Linked DNA regions of Homo sapiens: regions 2 and 3 are each linked to region 1. Evidence: promoter capture Hi-C in human tissues and cell types (Jung and others, 2019). All regions are on one chromosome and are shown on one strand. Each heading gives the region's core, a stretch centred on a gene start or on the middle of the fragment in contact. The rest is flanking DNA. Distances are from core to core; before and after follow the strand shown.

Region 1 (4,263 bases), core at 882-3,381:
TTTTTTTTTTGAGACGGAGTCTCGCTCTGTCGCCCAGGCTGGAGTGCAGTGGCACAATCTCCGGCTCACTACAACCTCCGCCTCCCGGGTTCACGCCATTCTCCTGCCTCAGCCTCCTGAGTAGCTGGGACTACAGGCGCCCGCCACCGCACCCGTCTAATTTTTTGTATTTTTAGTAGAGACGGGGTTTCACTGCGGTCTCAGTCTCCTGACCTCGTGATCCGCCCGCCTCGGCCTCCCAAAGTGCTGGGATTACAGGCTTGAGCCACCGCGCCCGGCATCAGTTCATCATTTTAACAGTGAAGCCAGAGTGTATGGGCAACTAACTGTGGGGTTGTGGGGCTGAAAGAAATGTTAAGGGGGACAGGTGATGTTCTCCTCTGACTGCTTCTCCTTTTTTTTTGAGACTGAGTGTCGCTCGGTCGCCCAGGCCGGAGTGCAGTGGCACAATCTCGGGCTCACTGCAAGCTCCGCCTCTCGGGTTGAAGGTATTCTCCTGCCTCAACCTCTGGAGTAGCTGGGACTATAGGCGCCCGCCACCACTACCGGGTAATTTTTTTGTATTTTTAGTAGAGACGGGGTTTCACCGTGTTAGCCAGGATGGTCTCGATCTGCTGACCTCGTGATCCGCCCGCCTCGGCCTCCCAAAGTGCTGGGATTACAGGACTGAGCGACCGCGCCCGGCCGACTGCTTCTCCTTTCTTAATGAGATATATATTAAAATACAAGTTCATCAGCTTAAAGTAAGAAGCGGGTAGGACAGACTGCAGGTGTAGGAGATGAGAAGAATAGTGTAAAAGAGTGTTGCCTGGGTGCGGCGGCTCACGTCTGTAATAGCAACACTTTGGGAGGTGGAGGTAGGAAGACTGCCTGAGGCCAGGAATTCGAGACCAGCCCAGGCAACATAGCAAGACCTCATCTCCACTAAAAATAAAAAATTAGCCGGGTGTGGTGGCGTGTGCCTGTACTTCTAGCTGCTCAAGAGGCTGGGGTGGGAAGATCCCTTGAGCCCAGGAAATCGAGGTTGCAGCAATACTTCACTGCGCCGCTGCACTCCAGCCTGGGCAACACAGGGAGATCCTGTATCGGAAAAAAAAAAGTGTATTTAGGAAAACACAGATTGGCAGTTTGGGAGATGAAAATTGAATGTAGGAGAATGAACGTCCAGGAAAACACGGTAGACATGACCAAAACACCTTCTTTAGATTAGTGGACTTGTATTAAAAGTGAGATAACTCGGCGGGGCGCGGTGACTCACGTCTGTAATTCCAGCACTTTGGGAGGCCGAGGTGGGCGAATCACAAGGTCAGGAGTTTGAGACCAGCCTGGCCAATATGGCGAAACCCCGTCTCTACTAGAAATACAAAAATTAACCGGCCGTGGTTGCGCGCGCTTATAGTTCCAGCTACTCCAGAGGCTGAGGCAGAAGAACCGCTTGAACCCGGGAGGCAGAGGTTGCAGTGAGCGGAGATGCTGCCACTGCACTCCAGCCAGCCTGGGCGACAGAGCAAGAGACTCCGTCTCAAAAAAAAAAGTGAGACAACTCACCAAGGTTCTGTTTTTCTCCAGCCACTTTCAACAGCCCTTAGTGCGGGTGTGGAATAGGAAAGGTAGATTTAACGAGGTTAGTTAATAAGCAATGTGAAGGAGAAAAATAAAAGGAAAAATGGATTATGAAATATAAAATGGATTACGAGGGAAGCAAAAAGCGTGACAGTAAAAAGGCAGGAGGACAATTATAGGTCCTGGTGGGGTTCAGGCGTTGTTGGAGCCGGGGTTCCAAGTTATTCTTCACAAGTTTAGATTAAGACCATGGAAGTCAGTGACTAAAGCTAAGTTTTTCGTTCCTCTAGATTCTGCCCCAGGAAAGTTTGGGTCAAACCTATCGGGATCCTTAAACCACATTCCACTCCGCCTCCTTTGTCGGGAGGTTTCACAGAAGCGGAAAAGGCGGCTCCCCCTTGCTCCTCCTCCCCACCTCCCCCCTACCTCTAGGAGTTTAGGGCCGGGCCATCCCAACGGGCTGCCCCTCCCAAAACTCACTGTTTGGACAGGTGTTGGGCGTCGCTAGGCGCCGACGAAGAACTTCTTTCCAGTCCATGGCCGACTTCCGCGCAGCAGCTTCTGCATTTGCTGTTTCCTACCTGCTCCACCCCTACCAGCTCAGGCGTCAGCACCGCCAGGCCCCGTAAAGGTTAGGAAGGCCGTCCAACCACCATCTTGATCGAGGGCGGAAGTCTTGGCTAAAGAGGCAAAAACAATTACTGTCACTGCCGCGGAGAATACCGCTACCACGCTGACTGGGGGAAAAAACTATGAAAGAGATGGAAAATGGTTCTCCTTCAGAGGCGACCCAAGCTCACCAAGCCGGATTTTAAAGGCCACGATAAGCCCGCGTTTTCCTTTATCGTGTGCCTTTGGCGCGTGCGCACCACGTGACCCAGGAGTTCATTAGTTCCGGCTTGAGGGAAGCGCCTTCTTTCACAATTTCTTTTCATTGTTCATTGCGGATATCTGGAAGCCTTCCAGGTCCCCTGAATGTAGTAGACACTTCAGCAGCCGTCTCCTACCCCTTTTGCCACTAAATGCTTCAAAACTGCCTTTTTTCCTCGCCGCCGGGCCAGGCGGAACGCCTAAGTCCGGGTCAGTCTCGTCCGTCGGTCGGGGCTGGCGCGGTGCATCGTGGGCACTGTAGTTTCCGCCGCGTTTATGGCCGCGTTAAGTCTGAGTGCCGCTTTGAGTTGTTGAATGAAGTGAACTTCATTTGTCAGCGTTCGGTACGCAGTCTAGGCAGCGCCCTTCCTGTACCTCTCTTCCTTTCCTGAGTCGTTGGCGCAGCTGACTCGCCACCTCCTCCCTCCTCGTCCCCCCACCGGAGGAGTTTTGCGGTCTGTAGAGAGCTATGCAGGGTGAGGGCCCCTAGACTTCGGCTTTCGCCGCTGTTGGTGGTAGGCTGGAGTTGGGGGTCCCTGGATACGGTTTTGGCTTTACACCCCCTTTCCAGCAAGCTTCCCGTGGGAATCTGTTCCTTTTCAGGACAGCTGTGATCCACGTGAGTAAAACTGGGCGTTCCGTCTTGTGCTTTTTCCTCAGGTTCATGAACTGGAATGTAAGAGGCACCAGAGGATTCCTGCTCTGTCCCCTGGTTTGCGGCTTGCGACGTTGGACATCCCCGGATTGTTGTTTAATAGAGAAAACTCACCTGCCTTCTTGCTTTTAAGTAGCCCCAAAAGCAGAACCTTGATTTGTCTGTAAGGAAGAAACACAAACCTTTTAAAAAGTTCCACTTCGACTCTGCACCGCCGACCCCCAATCTCTTTAATTTTGCCATAGAAGAGGGGTTTTTTCAACATCTCTCTCACTATCTGGTGCTGATCTCACTGCATAATGACTTTCTATTTGTTTGGTATTCGAAGCTTTCCGAAGCTTTGGAAGAGCCCATACCTTGGGCTAGGCCCAGGGCACTCTTATGTCTCGCTGTTTCTGGCAGACCGCTGTGGCATCAGGAACCAGCAGAGGTTGTTTTCTCTTAAAACAATGTCTCCACAGAATACCAAAGCAACGAATCTGATTGCCAAGGCCAGATATCTCAGGAAAGATGAGGGCAGTAATAAGCAAGTTTATTCTGTTCCTCATTTTTTTTTAGCTGGAGCAGCTAAGGAGAGATCACAGATGAATTCTCAAACTGAAGATCATGCCTTGGCACCTGTGAGGAACACTATTCAACTCCCAACACAACCTTTGAATTCAGAGGAGTGGGATAAACTTAAGGAAGATTTAAAAGAAAACACCGGAAAGACCAGTTTCGAAAGTTGGATCATTTCACAGATGGCTGGCTGTCATAGCTCTATAGATGTGGCTAAATCTCTGCTGGCATGGGTAGCAGCCAAAAATAATGGTATTGTAAGTTACGATTTACTGGTCAAGTATTTGTATCTCTGTGTCTTTCATATGCAGACATCTGAAGTTATTGATGTCTTTGAAATTATGAAAGCCAGATATAAGACTTTAGAACCTAGAGGTTACAGTCTTCTCATCCGGGGATTGATCCATTCAGACAGATGGAGAGAAGCATTGTTGCTGTTAGAGGACATCAAAAAAGTTATAACTCCTTCAAAAAAGAACTATAATGACTGTATCCAGGGAGCTCTCCTTCATCAAGATGTAAACACAGCTTGGAATTTATATCAGGAATTGCTAGGTCATGATATTGTTCCTATGTTGGAAACTTTAAAAGCTTTCTTTGATTTTGGAAAAGACATA
Region 2 (4,263 bases), core at 659-3,158, 570 kb after region 1:
CTAAGCTGTCAAATACTGCCCTCAGGTGGCATTAATGGCTCAATGCAAGATGCATTATACAGCGTTGTTAATCATGCTAACAAAACCATGTTAAAACAAATAAAATCAAAACCAACCTTACTGCTGAAAGTTAATAGTCTATATATGTAAAGTTATTTTAACTTTGACTCAAGATAGAGAAAACAGTTACCATAATCTTGCTTTCTGTTATCTGTCCATAGAGGTTCCATATTTAAATCATGAGTGGCTACTGTGAAACCTTTATGCACATTTAAAATCTCAGAAAAAAACAAAGTAATTAAAGTGTTTCAAGGACATAACTTGCATTCTATATAAATGAATGCAAAACTAAAAGCCTACAGCATGTTTGGAAATGGCTTAAATGAAAAGTGATTAAATTCACTTTGAGATTTAAGAAATAATTTCCTCATCACTGATAGTTAACTATAATGTTGGTGCTGGCTGTAGGACCTTGATTTCTATTATGTTAGTTGTCAAAATAATTTCTATCAAGAAAAAATACAAAACCAAATAGATCAGCAGTAAAAATAAGTGAAATCAGTTAGATATATCTGGTGCCCTTTTAAACTATAGTGGGGTGGGGAAGAAAGCATAGTAACTCCTTGATAATCTTAATTTCCATACTTGTGGTATACACTCAGAAAAATACTTGATTTAGGTAGTCTTTGATAGGTTATTGAAATTTTCCTATATATCCACTTTCCTATGTTGTTGTTCAGCAGCAAAGAGGTTTAACTAAATGCCTTATAAGGGAAATTAGTAATTTAAATAAACATTCTATGCTGGGAAAAATACAGCTGGGAAAAGGCGCATGCATAACCAAACAGAGAGAAAGCAGTGACCATCCCAAAGCTTTTTGATTGCTTATAGCTTGCTTCAGTTGCATTAAGCCAAACTGGTGCTGTCTTTCTCCTTTTGCGCTCTGCACACTGTTAGTGCTCACCTGCAGCTTTCCTTCCAAAATAGCCCATTACATGACTGTACAGATCCCTCAGTGGAGCCTCTGGTGGCATTCTGTTCTGCCTCTGTGGGGAAACATTTGCCTTCGGCTTCGAAAGAGCATGTACAACAGTTTTATAAACGCCACCCAGGGAGCCCTGCTGTAGTCCTGCCTCATGACTTGATGACCTAAGAGTACTACGACTACCTAATTGACTACTTGCAATTCCTTCTTTTTGTAATATGGTGGTGGGAATCTCTGTGGATTCCTTCACTGTTTTGCTGCTTACTGATGCAGTACCAAGTGTATCTAGAGGTCTGTACACACCAGGTTTTACTAGCTCTGTAGCACTATTTGTGCTGGTATGGGTGTTGCTAGTGCTGCTATTGCTGCTACCACTACTAAAGCCACCGAGCTTCCGCAGTCTCATCTTCCATGGAGCCTCTTTGTTTTCCAGAGGATTATAAAACTGAACGGACTCAGTGGATGGCCTAAAAGTAACATGAACACTATTTCGTTTTTTAGTAGCAATTTTCATGATTTTGGCTCTATGAGTTACTGTTTCAGACAAGCTCCTTTTAGTTGGAGAAAGTTTGCTAGTACTTGTAACATGAGGCATTCTGCGGTTAACAGGTGCTTTTAGTGTTGCTTTCTTGGCACGCATAACATGTGGGACAGTGATTTTTTCATTAATTTGCACACTCTTAAGCTTTTCAACTAGTGTTACATCAACACAAGCATCTAATTCTGTGGCTGCTTGTCTGTACAGATGTTTCCTTTTTTCTTTATCACAAGGGCTATCTAAACTAGGCTCTGATGGCTGTTTATCAGTGTTTAGTTGCTTAGATTTTTCAGAAGTTTGTGTTCTAAAAAAACTGTCTGACTGGTTAGGTGCGATATTACTCATGAAGACAGCTGAGTTTGGTTCTTTCTGAAACTGTAGGTTTTCAGGAGTCCCAACAAAAGAGGTGATATTTTCTGATTCAGTTTCCTGATCTGTGCATTCTAATTTATCTAAGGATAATCTTTCACCCCTATTTACTGCAATAGTCACTTCCTGAGAAGCTGGGTCTTTCCCTGTCTCATTTTTACTATGATTTTCCTGGTTTTCCTTAAAATATTCTTTCAGGGTGGAAAGAAGATCATCATCTCCTTCAAGGTCAATGTACTGGATTTGTTCAAAAGCTGAATCTGCAAGTTCTACTGGACCTATTAAATGACAAAGATGGTCATATATGCTATCACCAACTTCCAGAGAAGACTCTCTACTATGAGTATCAGTGATGTGGCTTTCAGTGGATCTAGTTATTGAAGAAGCCTCTGTGGAACTCTGCAAGCTTGGTGCATGACGGGATGAACTGTCAATGACAGGAACTGCACCTTTGGCTCGTTCAACAGTGAATGGTTCCAAGATGTCAGAAGTGCTGCTACTTCGAGGCAATGGCTGCTCCTCATTCAAAGCACCAAAAACTTCATTTCCAGTTTCTTCACTTTGTGAAAAATGTCTGACTCTAGTTGAGCGGGGAAGTATTTGAGCATCATCAATATCTGTAAAAGAAAAAAAAATTATGTAGAGAAGAACTACACAAATATAAAAAATAATTATTAATTTCAATAATGCTCTAAAGCATATGCTTTAAAAAAAATCTGAGTTTTTGTAAGCTCAATGAAAAAAAAATCAAAATACAAATCTGCTTTTTTAAAAAAATGATGGGCACAAGCCAATATAGCATGTAGTGTCAATGAATTAGAAAACTACCAAAACACATTTTAAAATGTTAACATGCATAGAAACAGACAGTGAGGTGATGAAACATTTGGAAGTGCAGATAAAGATAGAGCTGTGCCAATAAATCAAGCAACTCAAATGCTATTAAATTTTTCCTACTTATTTACGTTCCAAGCAGAAAAAATACACCTTAACACAGAAAGCCGATCCAAGTATCCCACTGTAGACTCTTATAGGGTCTAATAAATTCTCCAGCTTCCTTCCCAAAAAGGCAAGAGGCATCTTTTCTTCAAATTTTGCTTCTCTGTTTGATTACATATTAGAAATGAAAGTCTCTACCCTCTTCCTAAATTTCTCTTTGTCAGGAAACTGTTCTCCCCAGGTGTTTTACTTTATTACGTATTAAAATCTTATTCACTGACATCAAATAAAGTCAATATATTTTTTAAAAAATCAATTGTATTCTTTTGTTTTTGGCAAAAACACCACTTAAATCTGCTAGGAAGAAACTTTACCTGCCTGTTATTGGCCCTTTCCATTAAACAGCCATCAAGCTCTAAAAACTATATTTCTGGCTTCTTACATCTCTTTTTAAGAATTATAGGCTGGGCGCGGTGGCTCACACCTATAATCCCAGCACTCTGGGAGGCTGAGGTGGGCAGATCACCTGAGGTCGGGAGTTCAAGACCAGCCTGACCAACATGGAGAAACCCCATCTCTATTAAAAACACAAAACTAGCCGGGCGTGGTGGTGCATGCCTGTAATTCCAGCTACTTGGGAGGCTGAGGCAGGAGAACTGCTTGAACCCATGAGGCAGAGGCTGCGGTGAGCCGAAATAATGCCACTGCACTCCAGCCTGGGCAACAAGAGCAAAACTCCGTCTCAAATAATAATAATAATAATAATTATTATTATTATTATAGATGGACATTCAGAGATTATCTAATTTAACTATCTCACAGATGAGAAAATTGAAGCCCAGAGAGGTTAAGTTACTTTATCAAATTTACAATAAAAAAGTTTGAGAAACAGGCTTAGTGTTGCATATCACTGCATTATTTTCACTGCCTTCAGTGTCAGGATGAAATAACCATTTAACTGTTCAGATATATACAAATTCTCAACAGGAATTGTGGAAGCAAAATACAATGTCTATGAATCCATCATGGTCTGTAAGTTACCTAGAAATAACAAAAAAAAATTGTTTTCAGAAGTCAGCAAAATATAATGAAGAAAGGACAGAGTCAAAAAGTCAGCTGTTGCTACTTATTAGGCTTCTTGCACAAAAGTTAAATGCAACAGAACTATAACTGAACAATCAAAATGAGAAAATTTAGATCCAGAAGCAAAGCAGTGACTTGTCCAAGATTACAAAATAATTTGTTGATTCTTACTCTAGATTTTGAGACTAGTTTCCTCATTTATAAAATGGAGATAGTCATTCAAAGTATTTTTGGGATCCATGCTACTATGGCTGAAAAAAGGCTAGTCCCTCTGCAATTTCATTCATATCACCCTATTTGTATGAGGTCCAAATGGACCTACTTTATACTAAATTGAGATCAACATAGG
Region 3 (4,263 bases), core at 644-3,143, 550 kb after region 1:
TTTATACTGATTTACTTAGCATTGTCTCACAGTTCCACGACCATATGAAAAAATCTTCACATGCAATTTGAGAGTTTACTCCTGGCTGGGCACGGTGGCTCACGCCTGTAATCCCAGCACTTTGGGAGGCTGAGGCGGGCAGATCACAAGGTCAGGAGTTCGAGACCAGCCTGACCAACATGGTGAAACCCCGTCACTACTAAAAATAGAAAAATTAGCTGGGTGTGGTGGTGCCTGCCTGTAATCCCAGCTATTGAAGAGGCTGAGGCAGGAGAATCACTTGGACCTGTGAGGCGGAGGCTGCAGTGAGCCAAGATCGCACCACTGCACTCCAGCCTGGGCGACAGAGTAAGACTTCCATCTCAAAAAAAAAAAAAGAGAGAGAGAGAGTTTGCTCCTAGGACATATGTCCTTCTATGGTGGATGCCTTACCAAGTTTCTTTTTTTTAATTTTTAAATATATAATTGTTAAAGACAATATATATTCAGGGTGTACAACACGATGATTTGATACACACATACACTGTGTAATGATGACTCACCATTGTTTCTTACCTCTTGCTATAGCCCATTGCTCTTTCTTTGCTTTCTTCCCTCCGTTTCTTTAGATTTCCTCAACTTTAAATCCTGTTCTGCTTATCAGATTTTACTGATTTTAGTGCTTTCTTATATTTCAGATTTCTTGCTTACTTTTTTTAATGTAGGAGAAGCAATCAATTCCAATTAAATTGCAAAATTTCCTGATTATCAGCTTGTTATGTTTTATCAACTTTGTTAGTTGAATCCTGGCTAAAGTTTGTTATATGATAAGGAACAGGAAATGACTTACATTGAGAAAAGCTGAAGAAGCCACTCTACCAGCTGCTACAATAAAATCCATAATAAGCATTGTGGCACCAGGCAAACCAAGTGAAAAAAATTGAGGTGAGCAGTGTTTGATGATTGTATTGACAATATCCTTAGAATAAGGAAAGAAGGAAAAAAGAATATCACATATGTAATCTTGAGTATCAGCTAATCAGTATCATTAAAAATAGATAACATATGAAATAATAAAAAAGGTAATTACTGTACATTGGCTAACTGGAAAGACTAATTTCAATTCTTCCAAATAATCCATGCTTAATATTATATTCTATCAATGGAAAGTAAACTGAAAATACATTCATTTAACTGGCATAAATAACAGCATTTTTTTCACACTAGAGATTAAGGAAGGCTCTTTGCTTCACAAGGTTAAAAGTACAAGGCCCACACAATGTAAAACTAAACTGCATAGCAGTTTTCTCCTGTCACCTAGTTGCTTCTGTGCAATAACTCTCATTTCTGAATCCACATGACCCGTTACGTGACAATTGGAAAGATTCTCTTTTTAAAATAAACTGAAGTCCTTTAATGATAGGTATCAAGCCTCAGAAATCTAGACCTAGGCACTTTTAAGGGAATGTTCCTAACTTCATTATTCATTTACTTTGCCTTTGGAATTTACTATGAGGATACAGTGTATTCAGTTGTATTATTCATTACAACTTATCTTAAACAAAAGCTCTCTTCTTCTAATAATTAAGAGAGTCATTTTACTTGAGACATGTTTACAAGGTAGCACACTAATTTTAAATTAATGCAAAAATTTTACATTTTTCAGAAAGATATTATCTTTTAATATTAATATACTCTGTAAATGACCTACGAGTTCATCATATTAGGATAAACATATTTACATTATTCTGACTTGCAACCTCCTACACTTGTTAGTTTATGGCCAATATCAAGACTCCCAAAGTAATTCTAAGGTTATATTTATGACTATTTAATGATTATACCTCATATAATTATCAAATCAATGTAACTGTCACTATGCCAATATAATTGACAGTAATAAGAAAATGTGATGTGCTGATTCTTAGATTGAAAAAAACCTGACTGTTGCATAACTAGATAAACGAATCCATATGCCTCAAGTATCAGTCACAAAATGCCTAAGAGTAGGTACATTAGAATATTATTAAAGAAAGGTATCAGCCTAAGCAAAGGATGGTTTAATTGCTTCAAAAAGTGAACTGGTTGGTACAACATTAAAGATGGAGAACTACTCAAGTCAATCCTCTACCTACAATAATAGCTTGATTTTCAACCATGTTTCAAGAACAAATAAGGTCATAAAATTGAAGTAAATTGTATATAAATCACTAAATAAGGGGGAGAGTTTAACTTCTAGACCTTAAAAAGCAAGAGTTAAACAGAATCAAGAATCAAAGATAATATGATATAAACTACTTCTTAGATGATACATATATATATAGTTACCTGGTCAATATGAAGTAATCCACAATGCATTATATTGTAGAAATGTGTTAGAAAATCTCTATTTGGAGAAACATCTTGTCTTCTTTTCATTGTATTACAAATAAGTTTATATGCATGTAATTTACCTTGTTTATATTTATCAGTCAACATGGTTGCCTAAAATTAAAAGATCAGTTTTAATGTTCAAAAAGAAATACTATTTGCTAAATAACTTAAGCAACTGAATATAGCAAACGATGTATATAATCTCATTTATTTCCATGTTGGCCCAATTTCTTTAATGAACTAAAATTCAGGATTAGTGAAATTATCATCATCCAAAATGATACAATGTAGGTATAACCATAAACTGTTCCACTTAGGAAAATGTACCAAACATATCAATACTTAAAATAATTAAATCTTTTGGCTGGGCACAGTGGCTTAAGCCTGTAATCCCAGCACTTTGGAAGACCAAGGCAGAAGGGTCTCTTGAGGCCAGGAGTTTGAGACCAGCCTGGGCAACATAGAGAAACTCTGTCTTTACAAAAAAATAAAAAATTAGCCAGGCACGGTGGCACACGCCTGTAGTAGTCTCAGCTACTTGGAAGGCTGAAGTGGGAGGATTGCTTGAGCCCAGGAGTTCAAGGCTGCAGTGAGCTGTGATCATGCCACTGCACTCCAAGTCTGGGTGACTGAGTGAGGCCCTGTCTTTTAAAAAACAAACAAAAAAGAATTAAAATTTTTTTTTTGAGACGGAGTTTCGCTCTCATCACACAGGCTGGAGTGCAATGGCGCCATCTCAGCTCACTGCAACCTCCGCCTCCTATGTTCAAGCGATTCTCCTGCCTCAGCCTCTCGAGTAGCTGGGATTACAGGTGCCCACCACCATGCCCAGCTAATTTTTTGTATTTTTAGTAGAGACAGGGTTTCACCATGTTGGCCAGGCTGGTCTCAAACTCCTGACCTCATGTGATCCACCCGGCTCAGCCTCCCAAAGTGCTGCGATTACAGGTGTGAGTCACCTCACCCGGTCACAACTTTTAATACACAGCATATTCTGTGATACAACTCAAAGTTTATACTTCAGTTAAATACAATACAGACATACCTCTCTATATTCACTTTTGTTTTATGAAATAATCAAAAGCAATAAATCCCGAGTAATTTTAGTATGCACATTCTCTTCTCTATATAATGCCTAATGACTTCCTAAGGATACTGGTTAAAAACTAAGTGCTCTAGAAGTCTATATAATAGCCAAAATCTCTATAAAAAGTTTAAGATTTAGTAAATGAGAAGTTTTAAACTAATATTTTATATATTAAGCTTACCTTAAAAAGCCAAGGTGTAAGAATTCTCAGTGGAGGAATTAAAACTGGTGGAGAAGGGGAGGTCAGGTTATCAGTTGAAATGCCAAGGTTATCTCTAATCTGTAATTTTCAAATAAAAAGCAACAAACCTAAGAAAACTGTTATCTCTTCCAGTTTACCTTAAACTGAATTTCAAATCCAGTTTCTACACTTACTATTTAATTACAATTAAGTGACTTTGCCATGCAGGGTACCAGTTTATAGTCAAAAAGGGTGTCACAAATGTTTTCTAAGGCTTCTTCTATTTTTAAATATTTTTATTTTCTTCTCCACTTATATCCGCTATTTCTTTTTTACCTTAGCTAGATTCTGCCAAAGTTCACAGAGGTAATCAAAAACTTGAGCATGTATTTCAGGATCCATGATTGAATTTACATCTCCCAAAATGCCTAGCATTCTTCGCCACATTACAGTAGCAACATCAGCATGCCATCCAGTCAGAGTACCTCCTGCCATCACACTACAACATTCTGATGGAAATTCACTAATTTCTATAGAAAAAAATATATAGTGTCAGCCATTTTTCAGTGAACTGAACATAAAACCCCCCAAGAAACCAAGCTAAATTAACAATCTTAAATATCTACAGAAATGAATAAAAGAA

Evidence for each region. The method cuts DNA at HindIII sites, captures the fragments that hold promoters and counts their contacts. A contact is called where the count stands out against the background at its distance.
Region 2: a fragment that was not itself captured here is called in contact with the fragment with the promoter of PPP2R3C in region 1 in 1 of the 25 tissues and cell types used here (dorsolateral prefrontal cortex).
Region 3: a contact is called between a fragment that was not itself captured here and the fragment with the promoter of PPP2R3C in region 1, in 1 of the 25 tissues and cell types used here (mesendoderm cells).

The regions. Positions count from the first base shown.
Region 1 is chr14:35,119,859-35,124,121 of GRCh38, forward strand. It overlaps PPP2R3C (protein phosphatase 2 regulatory subunit B''gamma), which reads right to left and starts at 2,132. Exons shown (of 13, transcript NM_017917.4): 1 at 2,044-2,132. The coding sequence starts at 2,101. PRORP (protein only RNase P catalytic subunit) reads left to right here and starts at 2,694. Exons shown (of 8, transcript NM_014672.4): 1 at 2,694-2,777; 2 at 3,094-4,263. The coding sequence starts at 3,388. PRORP-PSMA6 (PRORP-PSMA6 readthrough) reads left to right here and starts at 1,981. Exons shown (of 15, transcript NR_182666.1): 1 at 1,981-2,194; 2 at 3,094-4,263. RefSeq lists enhancers at 1,336-2,535, 1,755-2,674, 1,918-2,047, 2,588-2,667, 2,675-3,594 and 1 more. The HindIII fragment of the contact is 11,618 bases long and covers 1-3,212 here.
Region 2 is chr14:35,687,495-35,691,757 of GRCh38, forward strand. RALGAPA1 (Ral GTPase activating protein catalytic subunit alpha 1) reads right to left here. Exons shown (of 42, transcript NM_001346249.2): 18 at 965-2,509. Among named protein-coding and RNA genes, the nearest start is that of SNORA101B, 73 kb to the right of the region's middle. The HindIII fragment of the contact is 3,538 bases long and covers 140-3,677 here.
Region 3 is chr14:35,670,560-35,674,822 of GRCh38, forward strand. It overlaps RALGAPA1 (Ral GTPase activating protein catalytic subunit alpha 1), which reads right to left. Exons shown (of 42, transcript NM_001346249.2): 23 at 3,957-4,150; 24 at 3,621-3,719; 25 at 2,308-2,463; 26 at 830-958. Among named protein-coding and RNA genes, the nearest start is that of SNORA101B, 90 kb to the right of the region's middle. The HindIII fragment of the contact is 6,397 bases long and covers 1-4,263 here.